2 separate regions of the Homo sapiens genome follow, and region 1 is linked to region 2. The links are contacts of gene promoters, found by promoter capture Hi-C in human tissues and cell types (Jung and others, 2019). All regions are on one chromosome and are shown on one strand. The core of a region is centred on a gene start or on the middle of the fragment in contact, and the rest is flanking DNA. Distances in the headings are between cores, read along the strand shown.

The links. Contacts are between HindIII fragments. The study calls those that stand out against the background at their distance.
Region 1: a contact is called between a fragment that was not itself captured here and the fragment with the promoter of MRPL33 in region 2, in 1 of the 25 tissues and cell types used here (dorsolateral prefrontal cortex).

The regions. Positions count from the first base shown.
Region 1 is chr2:28,099,000-28,105,051 of GRCh38, reverse strand. All of the region lies in intron 6 of BABAM2 (BRISC and BRCA1 A complex member 2), which reads right to left. Among named protein-coding and RNA genes, the nearest start is that of MIR4263, 110 kb to the right of the region's middle. The HindIII fragment of the contact is 5,252 bases long and covers 67-5,318 here.
Region 2 is chr2:27,769,518-27,775,821 of GRCh38, reverse strand. MRPL33 (mitochondrial ribosomal protein L33) reads right to left here and starts at 4,103. Exons shown (of 4, transcript NM_004891.4): 1 at 4,023-4,103; 2 at 3,130-3,148; 3 at 1,292-1,398. The coding sequence starts at 4,044. RefSeq lists enhancers at 3,922-4,051, 3,292-4,108, 4,342-4,461. The HindIII fragment of the contact is 4,142 bases long and covers 2,665-6,304 here.

The DNA.
Region 1 (6,052 bases), core at 1,443-3,942, 330 kb before region 2:
TCCCCCCACCCCACAACAGGCCCCGATGTGTGATGTTCCCCTTCCTGTGTCCAAGTGTTCTCATTGTTCAATTCCCACCTATGAGTGAGAACATGCAGTGTTTGGTTTTTTGTCCTTGTGATAGTTTGCTGAGAAGGACGGTTTCCAGCTTCATCCATGTCCCTACAAAGGACATGAACTCATCATTTTTTATGGCTGCACAGTATTCCATGGTGTATAAGTGCCAAATTTTCTTAATCCAGTCTATCATTGATGGACATTTGGGTTGGTTCCAAGTCTTTGCTATTGTGAATAGTGCCACAATAAACATACGTGTGCATGTGTCTTTATAGCAGCATGATTTATAATCCTTTGGGTATATACCCAGTAATGGGATGGCTGGGTCAAATGGTATTTCTAGTTCTAGATCCCTAAGGAATCGCCACACTGTCTTCCACAATGGTTGAACTAGTTTACAGTCCCACCAACAGTGTAAAAGTGTTCCTATTTCTCCACATCCTCTCCAGCACCTGTTGTTTCCTGACTTTTTAATGATCACCATTCTAACTGGCGTGAGATGGTATCTCATTGTGGTTTTGATTTACATTTCTCTGATGGCCAGTGATGGTGAGCATTTTTTCATGTGTTTTTTGGCTGCATAAATGTCTTCTTTTGAGAAGTGTCTGTTCATATCCTTCGCCCACTTTTTGATGGGGTTGTTTGTTTTTTTCTTGTAAATTTGAGTTCTTTGTAGATTCTGGATATTAGCCCTTTGTCAAAAGAGTAGATTGCAAAAATTTTCTCCCATTCTGTAGGTTGCCTGTTCACTCTGATGGTAGTTTCTTTTGCTGTGCAGAAGCTCTTCAGTTTAATTAGATCCCATTTGTCAATTTTGGCTTTTGTTGCCATTGCTTTTGGTGTTTTAGTCATGAAGTCCTTGCCCATGCCTATGTCCTGAATGGTATTGCCTAGGTTTTCTTCCAGGGTTTTTATGGTTTTAGGTCTAACATTTAAGTCTTTAATCCATCTTGAATTAATTAGCAATTCTAAAGATTTACAAATGTGCCTCAGAATATAAGGGTTAAAAAAATGAGTTTATTGAGTTTATGATAACCACTTAGCTAAAACTGGAAAGAAAAAATGACATAGGAGGAGTATAAAGATAAACAGTACGATCTGTGAATAATTTGATGTTGGATAAGAAAAGCCAAAGGCCAACCTAGGAACTATTAGGAGTTCTGGACAACTAAACTGCTGACTCCCAAATTTCTAATGTCTCACTTGGTAGAAGAGATCACCTAAGAAGCTCTCATAAAGAGCAGAAATGGGACTGTTGCTCTCTGGAGAAACAATGGGACCTTTTCATCTCTGTGAGGAGTACACTATTCTTCCCACTTCAGTGATGGTTGAAAAGAAACTGACTCCTCGATAAAAACAGAGTGGGGATAATAAGACACCACTTTATGCCAGGTGCAGTGGCTCACGCCTGTCATCCCAACACTTTGGGAGGCTGAGATGGGAGGATGGATTGAACCCTGGAGTTCGAGGCCAGCCTGGGCAACATGGCAAAACCCCATCTCCACAAAAAATACAAAAATTAGCCGAGCATGGTGGCATGTGTCTATAGTGTCAGCTACTAGGCTAAGATGGCAGGATCAATTGAACCCAGGAGATTGTGGCTCTAGTGATATGTGATCACACCACTGTACTCCAGCCTGAGCCAGGATCAAGAACCTGTCTAAAAAACAAAACAAAACAAAACAAAACAAAAATACTAAGTAAATAATGAATTCTCTCAACTCAGCTCACAATACAAAGTAGGACACGTTGAATATCACTTTCATAATTCTGCTTCATCCATCTGGAACACTGGCTATAAGGCCTTACTAGAACTTTGAGAAGCTTACTGAGTAAATTTTTTTTTTTTTTTACTCAATAAGTTCAAGTATTGAGTAAATTTTCCCAAAAAACAAATACTCTAAAATGAAAGATATCACATCAGGACCATATAATTACTTTCAGCATTTTATGAAAAGGATAAAGGAAACCCTCCTCATAAAACAAAACAAAAAACTATAGGCCGTTTATAGATTACTCAAACTGACATAATTCAGTTTGTAAAATCATTATTTTATTACATGATTCCTATATAAAATCATTATTTTAACATAGGAACTTATAAGAAAACTCAATGCAGTTATGTTTCTTGTGGTTAGTACTGTGTCAGAGAGGGCAGTGGCTTTGGTTTACCTCCAATGGTCTCTCTCAAAAACACCAACTGACTGAGTCTATTCCTGGAATTGCTCTAACCTCCCCTAGTATTTTGTCTGTTCGCACATTGTAATGCACAAGGAACAGTGGTAACATGTGAAATAAGTTCAAAGACCCCAAAGTGGAAGACACTGTTTTCCTGCATCCTACCTACTGTAACTGAAAACTGGGAATTTACTGGAATTGAGAATTTATTATGAGTCAGATGGCTGATAGCCTTTCCAACCAAAACATCTGCTCTACAAAGGCACAACTGCTCCAATCCATTTCCTCTTGGATCTGGAGAATGACCAAGTTGTAGCTTAGCCCTTTCCTTAAAGACACAGGGGCTTGAAATGAAAATGAAATAAAAGTGGATCTCTATGTCACCTTCCAAATTCTACTACTCTTAAATGGTATTAAAATGTAACAAAATATGAGAATAAGTATGTTTTAGACATTAAAAAAATTGCAGTCGGTTCAGTGGAGTAACCAAGGATTTTTATCAGATCATTCAAATTTACAACGGCACAGCTGAAACCAATTCTTTCTCTGGTATTGAGGGAAAAAGGGACATGTATTACCCAAGCACAGTGAAAAAGCGTTTCATTATTCATTTATTTATTCAAAAAATATTCACTGTGCACTTCTACGTGTCAGGCACTATTCTAGGAACAACTGGTGAACAAGCTAGATAATGGCCCTCCTCTTAGAGCCTACCTTTCAGCAGGGGATGACGAATAAACAAGTCAGCCAATTCATAAATAGCCTTCAAAACACTATAGGAGTTATCTTGTTTCCAATGGTTTATTTACAACAATTGATACCAAGATTTTTTTCTAGCAACTACAGAGAGCTACTGCAGTGGTTCAAGTTCTAGCATTTGTTAAAAAACACACATTCCTGAACCCTGCCCTGGGGATTATGATTCAGTAAGTGTGGGTAAGTCAAGGAAATATGATTTTTTAACTTACAAGGGGATTGAACTGCCCATCCAGGTTTGGGGTCTATTGCCTTAGAGCAATAAAAAAATGTGTGAGCTTCCTATCAATATGTTTATATGTATTTATTTATAAGCTATATAGATGAACCTATGTACTAATACATTATGAACATCATAAAACATGCACAAACAGTAGAAATTCTAAGAGGGTGAGATAAAAATCAACACAACTGTATGGCTTACTATATGGGGCATGTTAGGAGGTCTGCAGGTTCCCCACATGGACTGGGGATAGGACAACCACAGGTGAGGCCCTGTAATTCACAGCTTGGAAAGACAGACTCTATCTCAGCCCTCACTCTGCTCCATAACTTACATGGGTGCAGAGAACTAGGCAGAGGAGCATTAAAATTATCATCATCTCAGTGACAAGAATTTGGGAGGCCCTGTGTCTCACTTCACATGCCAACATATACCTGCCCATTCTTGTTAACACACACCAAATATGGTAAAACCAGATCTAAAAAAAGACAAACTCTGTCATAGGTTCGGCAGCCATAACCCTGTTGTGTCAGCTGTTTGAATCATGTGTGAATGAGTCCATGCATGCTAGATATCAGGCAATATGGTAGAGTAGAAAGATCACAGACTTTGGAGTTAGACAGACTAGTGAGAATCATAGCTTCATCGCTTACTGGCTATGTCAACCTGGCTGGATAAGTTATTTAAAACCTGGATGAGTCTATTTCCTCAACTATAAAATGAGAAGTTATAAAACTGCTGTATCAGTAATAGTAGCCACCATTATTGGCACTGTTATCCCAGATCATCTTGGGACTATCTGACCCACCTGTTCCCTGCTATCTGTGGACACTGGGCTTTGCCTGCTTCCCTGGAAATGATACCTATCTGTTGCCTTCTCTGTATGTAAACTCTGTTGTCAAATCCTTGCCTGTCTGTACAAAACCAATTTCTTCCTCCTGACCATGATGAATGAGTACCTCCACAACAGCTGCCCCCTTAGAACCTACTCGCTCCTGGCCAGGCCCACATACATGCCCTTGACTTTGAATTCAGTGTTACGCCTCATGGACCAACAGCCCACACTTGCCCCTTCATTTGGCATCGAGCTTTCTAGTCGTTATGCTTCTGCAGGCACAAAATCTCAACAAGTAGCAACTTCTCTCTTCTAGTCATGGTCTCCTTTCCAGTGTCTCTTGTTTGTGCTTCCTGATATTATTATTTGAATAGTTACATGTACTGAAATCATTTATTGAGTTTGGAGATTAGAAGGCGATACACAAAAGAATCTGCTCACAACGGCAGGAACGGGCATACACATATACACAAAAGCATAGTTTTTCAACTAGGTGACTTTTAAAAGTCAGGCAGCCATCTTTTTTTTTTTTTTTTTTTTGGAGACAGAGTCTCTCGCTCTGTCACCCAGGCTGGAGTGCAGTGGCACGGTCTCGTCTCACTGCAACCTCCACCTCCCAGGTTCAAGCGATTCTCCTGCTTCAGCCTCCCAAGGAGCTGGGATTACAGGCACGCGCCACCACACCCGGTTAATTTTTTATGTTTTTGATAGAGATGGGGTTTTACCATGTTGGCCAGGCTGGTCTCGAACTCCTGACCTCAAGTGATTGGCATCCCCACCCGCCCCCAGCCTCCCAAAGTGCTGGGACTACAGGTGTGAGCCACTGTGCCTGGCCAAGGCAGCCATCTTAAGAAAACTCAGGCCTCTTAAAGAAAAAATCAAAACAATTAAAAATCTATCTAAAATAATTTAGAAAAAGAGAAAATAATCAATATCAAACCAAAATTAGAAAAGACAAAAAACAAAATGAAGAGCAAAAGTAAAAATAAGCTAAGTACATGCAGCAACACAAAAGACAGAAAAATTCACATTAAATCAAGACTATACGTTAGAAATTTTTTTTTAATTAGGGCATTATAAATCCTGATTATATGCTAGTAAATTTGGTAGTTAAATGTAAATAGATAAAAATTCAAGACCACAAGAGGATAAAAGAGAGGTATCGGGAAATAGCAAACCTGAATGGACAACTTACAACAACAGAGTGAAATGTTATTAGGATTACTGTTTTCAAAGATGCCTATAGCCAATGAGTTTGTTGGAGAATGTTTTGGAACTTTCCAAAAATAGGTAAGAATGTTATGCTTTTCAATCTACCTCATAAGGCAAATATAGTCTTATTTTCCAAAAACAGACAAGATATGCACAATGATTTTTTATGAGTATGGCTATAATAACTAAATAAAAACCCTAGTAAATAGAAAAAAAGATCACATTAAAATAATTTTCCTATGAACAAGCAGAGTTTTGTTCTTGTACTGCATAACTAGACACAAGGAAAACAATATAATTCATCACGCAAAGAGGGACAGTATAGAAATCATATCGTTAATGCAACAAGTGCTTATAGAAAACTGCAACACCCATTCTGAGCCCTTTGGCAAAGCAAACACACTACAACCAGGTTGTCAGGTTCTCCCCAAGAGGCCTCGGGGTGTGCAGTTTATGTTCTTGGTGGACAGAGTTTGGCCTTCTGGGCACAGAAACTCAATTCTGTCTGCATACCAATTGCACAGCCATGGCTCAAGGGAAGGTGGCATTATACAGCCAGAATGCTAACTCATTAGTTTACTATCAAAATTAATTTGGTACTAAAATTCTCTATGTTCGTATGGTTACTGCATTCTTTCCCTGTAAGAAGTCAATTTATTACTTTGTAATAATAAATCACAGTCACAAGGATGGAATGAATACTCCAAACCCCTAAGATCAGTGTATTATCTTCCTATGAGAAAGGCTTATGTGGGTTTCTGAGTGAACAAGAGATCAAAACAAGGGGAGTT
Region 2 (6,304 bases), core at 2,854-5,353:
TCACTCTGATAATGAATAAACAGAAATTTGAACACCATAAAAACAGCAAGGAATTTTATTTCTGTTAAAGGATGGAACACAAGAAACTTTAAGCTGACAACTGTGCTTCTTGGAGCCTTTAAAAAATGTCTGCTCATGTTATTATAGCCATTATCTTGTTAAGAAGCAATGGCCGGGTGCGGTGGCTCACACCTGTAATCCCAGCACTTTGGGAGGCTGAGGTGGGTGGATCACCTGAGGTCAGGAGTTCAAGACCAGCGTGGCTAACATGGTGAAACCCTATCTCTACTAAAAATATAAAAGTTAGCCGGGTGTGGTGGCACACACCTGTAGTCCCAGCTACTTGGGAGGCTGAAGCAGGAGAATCACTTGAACCCAGGAGGCAGAGGTTGCAGTGAGCCGAAATTGTACCACTGCACTCCAGCCTGGGCGACAAAGTGAGACTCCATCTCAAAAAAAAAAAAAAAAAAATTAATTATAAAGAGCACAAAATGAACAGCCAGAGCTCTAAAATTAAAAAACACGTTTGCTATTTTTACATAAATCTGCACATAAAATCCAGAAACAGGATAGGCATCCACCAACAGCAATCAGGTGCTGACTCTATTTTTGTTTGTGAGCAGATAATATGGCCTTAGGAACACTTGTCTCTTCTAGATAAATACTTCCATCTAATGAGACCATTTAAAGTTACCATATAGTACAGCATTTTAGTGGATGGCACAAAATGGAAAAATCAAATTTCCTACCCCCACTGCACTAATATATAGAAACCATATTCCTTTAACTTCTATCAGGAACCAAATACTAGCCACTGTCGAACAGATGATGCCAGGACACCATACCGTCCCCTTCTTAAGACACTTGTCTGTTTCCAGAACACTACCACCTATTCTCTTTACATAGCTGGTTTCTCACCTTCAGGTCTCGGTTAACTATCTCCTCCTGGAGAGACCTTCCCTGATTTAGCCATCTAATGTGACTTTCCCTACCACTCTCCAACTTCATCCTACACCTCAGCATCCTGATTGTTTCTCTCACAGCACTTATAATTTGTCATCTTTTCTCCCCCTCTCAGACTAGACTAAGTGCCAAGAGTACAGGGACTTGTCTTGTGTCCTGGTGTATCCCAGCACCTGGGATGTTAAATAGCATCATAACAATCATTCAATACCTATTTACTAAATGAATGCTAGTGTCAGAGGCTAAAAAAACACCTCCAGAGAGTTCAGATGTTCAGCCTACAAAGGGGGCAACAGGCCTTGGAAGCATTAACCTCCCCAGATCTTACCAACTGGATCATAATGCAAAAGAGTCAGTTTTTCCCGCAGTCGGTTTCTCTTGGTGTTGAAGCAGAAACCTGTCCCAGCTTCGCTCACCATTCTCACCAGAATGTTTCTAAGATTAAAAAGTACGCTGTTATGTACGAGCTGACGAAATAAACTAAAATCAGTCACAGGGGGATGGCACATTTTGAGAACTCTGTAGGGTAATATTAGTTGTGAGATATCACTTGGCCCTAAAAGGTTCAGTTGTAAGACAGCCTAAGTTTTCCATGAAACAGTTTCAATGGTTTCAAATCTCTAGGATTTGCTCCACTACACAGAGTTACTTCGCAATGACCTAACCAAAACAATAAGAACAATCAAGCCACATTGCGGGACTAGCCTCAGACATCCACCCTTCACGAGGAGCAGAAGTCAGGAAGGGGAAAATATCAAAATACTGGTAACCACAGCTGGCTAGTGAGGAAATTGTAAAGATCGCTGTCTCAGAACAGCCCTCTCTTCCAGGGCATAAATGATTATATTCAGGAAGGGACAAAATAAAGAGACTAAAGCTTTTAGTTTGCTAATGCGCAAAACCTTGTGCCCCTTCATATTTCATTTAAGTTCCACTCATCCAAAGCAGAAAGTCCATGTTTGCCTCACCAGATCTTTTAATACCTGTACTGTTTGTTATTTTTTCATGTGTCTTGTCTCCCCATGTAGACCATGTTATTTTATTTCTCATGTAATTCCAAAACAACCTGGAAGCATCTAAGACTATATTACACACCACTGCATTGCTTTCAACATTCAGCACAGTGCCTCATAAGAGGCATACAGTATTTGTTTGTAATTAAGATAGACAATAATTATTCAACACAGATTCAACAAATATTAAGCACTTACTCTGTGGAAGGCACTCTGGGAAATACAAAGCTCTACAAGTCTATGTCTATGTCCTCTAGGAGCTAACAGTACTGTATGGAAGGTGAGTTGGTACATGAGGTCAATCAGGCAAGACATATATGAAATATGTCACAAGGGTAGAAAGAACGAGAGTCAGAATATACCTCTACAGAAACCAAAGGCAAGAGATTCCTATAGATCCCTGGGGCAGGGAATTTTGACATAAATAACTGGACTGTGGCGAAAGCTACGTGAATCACTGAAAGATACTGGGAGGGAAAGCGCTAACATACATGTTTTTCATTAACGTTAATCCAAAAGACTAGCTTTAAGGATTTTCAATGTCTTGAGTTGCAAGGAAAAGCTGCTTTAGAACCTCCCTATTTTTACCACAAAATCTTCTGTTATTGTCTACAACATTTATTTTGAAATACAAGTTTGGTAGTTCTAGTCTCTCTGGTACAGCATGGAATCTTTAATCTTGGCTATTTTTGAAATGCTTATACCATGAATGCAAAGGATTACAAAACTCATTAAAACAGACTATGATTTAATCAAAGCAGAGTTTGTTCTTCTGGATTCCCGTAGTGAGCTCCAGACACATGGCCCCTGGTCCTCGATTTGAGGAAATGGAAATATGGTGGTAGTCCAAATACAGCACAGCCCAATGGTTTGTTTAGAAACAGACAGTGAGCTCACAAATCCTGGGACTAGAAAAGCAGCAAAGGTTCCTTCAAGTATTTCAATGCTCACAGAAGTAGCTCAGTTCAGCAGGAGGGAAAATATTTTTGAAAGAGTTCATAAAGAAAAAATAATCAACTAAGTAATCCACAAACCAACTCTTAGGAAATCAAGGCCCAATGCTTAATTTCATATAAGGATGTACTGGGAGCAGCTAGACTAACAAATCCAACATAAACAAGTGACGTTTAAAAAAGGAAAAATCTTTACTTACTTTGACTTGCTCTTGGCAACTTTTTTGTAGACAGGAAGGGTTGGAAAAGAAAATAAAAATATAAATGTATTCTCTTTCTTATGCAAAGTTCATATAAATATCAGTAATAACCAAAAATATTTAACTTATGAAATATGCCATGAGGTGTCACTCAAGTAACTATTCCCTATCTATTAGGGATCCCCTTAGGATTTTATAGAAGGAAGGTTAAAAGATCCAATCAGACCAACACAATTCTAGATTTAATATTTTGCATAATTTCATGACTGTTGGACTGGCTACCTTTTAAATCTTTCTAAAGTAATACCTGCTCCATTTTTTCCCTCTTCTAAGGTGCAAGTATTCGCGCTGCAGCAAGCTTCTTGTTTGACAAGTTTAACCTTTGCAAATTACAACAACCATCACATGTGGTGAAAACCAGATACTAAATCTAACTGGGAAGTCAGCCAAGGGTAAAGAAGAGCACTGACTCGGGAGCCCGAGGACTTCTTTAACTGCCCTGCCGCATTACTCAGGCAATTCATTGCCCCTCTCGGGAGCGGTTTCCTTATTTTTAGAGTTCGAAATAGGTGGGCTGCAAATTCTGAGGTCCTTCGGACAAAGATTCTCCTAACACGGGCTGGAGAAAAACGCCCCACAGCCAGACTCAACGGTCCGTGAGGACGGCAATTGAATCCAGACACCGCAGACCCCTTCTCAGGCACCCACAGGTCCGCGCAGGGAGGCGCGCCGCGGGGCATGCCGGACGCTGTGGTCCTGAAGGCCTGGAAAAGTACGCAGCTGCAGCTTCCCGTCCTGTTCGCACATCCTTCCCCGCATCATTCCGGGGCCCTGCCTGTCACGGCCCCCTAACCCTCGCCGTAACCCCTACCGGCGTCTCCAGCCCCACTTACAGAAGACCGCGGAGAGGAACATGGTGACCACACCTGGGCAGTCTCCGTCACCGGCCAAAAGGCCCCCAACCAACAACAACTGCTTCCGGGGCACGGCCCGGTTCTGGAAGAGGACATCCGGCAGTCGCCCGAGGCCACGCCCCCCGCCTGGAACCTGCCTCCAGTCGTCTGGCTCGTTCCTCGGTTTCTCAGAGCGAGTGTGTTTTGCTTTTGTCGTGCTGGAGGTTGGAATCCTCATCATTCTGGAAAGGGATTTACAGCTCAGGGTTCGCGCCCCGGCCCTGACTCCTATTTCTGGGTCAAGTGCTTTCAGCGTTAGGTGCTTTCCATATTTGTTTCACGAAATAATCGCAACCACCTGCATTAGACCCACAAGAACAACTGTGTATTGTACTTCGGCCGCTCCAGCGTATCAGCCCCTCGCATATTTTCTTAAAATGTTGCCTCCCCCGACCCAACTCCCTCTCCGCCTGGTTAAGCCTTACTCTCACTCTTCTGAGTCCCTTCGGCATTAAGAACCCCACCTTTCCTTAGTTATCCCAATCTCTAGGAGGGCAGGACCCTTTGCATCTCAAACTTCTGTATCCAAACACCTAGCACAGTTCCTGACATAGAAGCCAAATAACAGATTGAGAGCATTCACATCACGTGCCTAATATCACAGAACTACCAGGTGGCAGAGTAAGAATTTAAACCTAGATTTTATCTGACTCCAAAGACTCATGCCTTTCCCAGTAGACATTGGGACCTACCAGTTTGCAATCATTAATTTTTCATGGCTCTGTAAGGAACCTGGGCTCCTCTAACACCAAGGACCTCGTCAGTAACCTCATTTCGCAACTAATAATCAGGACTTTTGGATTTTTTTCCTAATCCGTGATTTGTATCTACATATGAAGTCTTACAGATGTGAAATAAGATTTAATCGCATGGCTCACGCCTGTAATCCCAGCCCTTTGGGAGGCTGAGGCAGGCAGATCACTTGAGGTCACGAGTTTGAGACCAGCCTGGCCAACGTCGCGGAATCCCGCCTGTACTAAAAATACAAAAATTAGCTGAACCCGGGAGGCGGAGGTTGCAGTGAGCCGAGATAGCGCCACTGCACTCCAGCCTGGGCGACAAAGTGAGACTCCGTCTCAAAAAAAAAAAAAAAAAAAAGTAATAAAACTGTTTTAAAGAAAATTCAGCTCTCTGTGCCATCACAAAGAAGATGAGGAGGAAAAAAATCAGCTCTCCATACAATACAATTCAATTTTTTAAATTAAGACCGTCCTTCTCCTTAGTACCTATAATACTTTTTTTCCTTCTAATCATTCTTGATATTTATCTTCCCATAACCGGACTCCAGCTACTGAGTACCTTCCAGGTGCCGAAATCCTTCCTTACCTTGCATTGGCAAAAAAGAGCTTCAGATGTTCAAGAGGATAAGGTTTCTTATATTTCCTTTAGAGGATTTATAAGAAAACACAAGACTGGAAGCCAAGGAACATGATTTCTAGTCCTTGTTCTGTCCCTTAGAAAGTCACTTTAACTTTAGCCCAGCCAAATAGCAGTTCTTAAACTCCATGCCCCTGCCCCCAACTCTATTCTCCTTACTCTTCTTTATGTTTTCCTACAGCACTTATTGCCATTAATAGTATTACTTGTGTACTTGTTGATTTCCCTATTGTCTTTGGCTACCAGAATGCTGGGCAACAGCAAAACCCTGTCTCTAAAAAAATTTTTTTAATTAAAAAAAAGAACTTCAGCTTATTCCCTCACTGCTGTATCCCTGGTTCCTACAACAATGCCTGCTACATCTATTAAATATCTATTGAATGAATGAATCTGAGGTGAGAGGCACCATACAAATGTCAATATTTATGTTTAAATAGCAAAAAAAAAAAAACTAACTTTAAGTATTGTCAATAGTTTCAGGATCCAGGAGAATGTATAAGCTTGCTTTTGAAAAGAGCCAGGTGCAGTGGGTCACTCCTGCAATCCCAGTATTTTGGGAGGCCGACGAGGGTAGATCACCTGAGGTCAGGAGTTTGAGACCAGCCTGGCCAACATGGCGAAACCCCATCTCTACTAAAAAATAACACAACTGGCCGGGCGCGGTGGCTCACACCTGTAATCCCAGCACTTTGGGAGGCCGAGGCAGGTGAATCACGAGGTCAGGAAATTGAGACCATCCTGGCTAACATGGTGAAACCCCATCTCTACTAAAAATACAAAAAAAAAAAAAAAAAAAAATTAGCCGGGTGTGGTGGCGGGTGCCTGTAGTCCCAGCTACTCGGGAG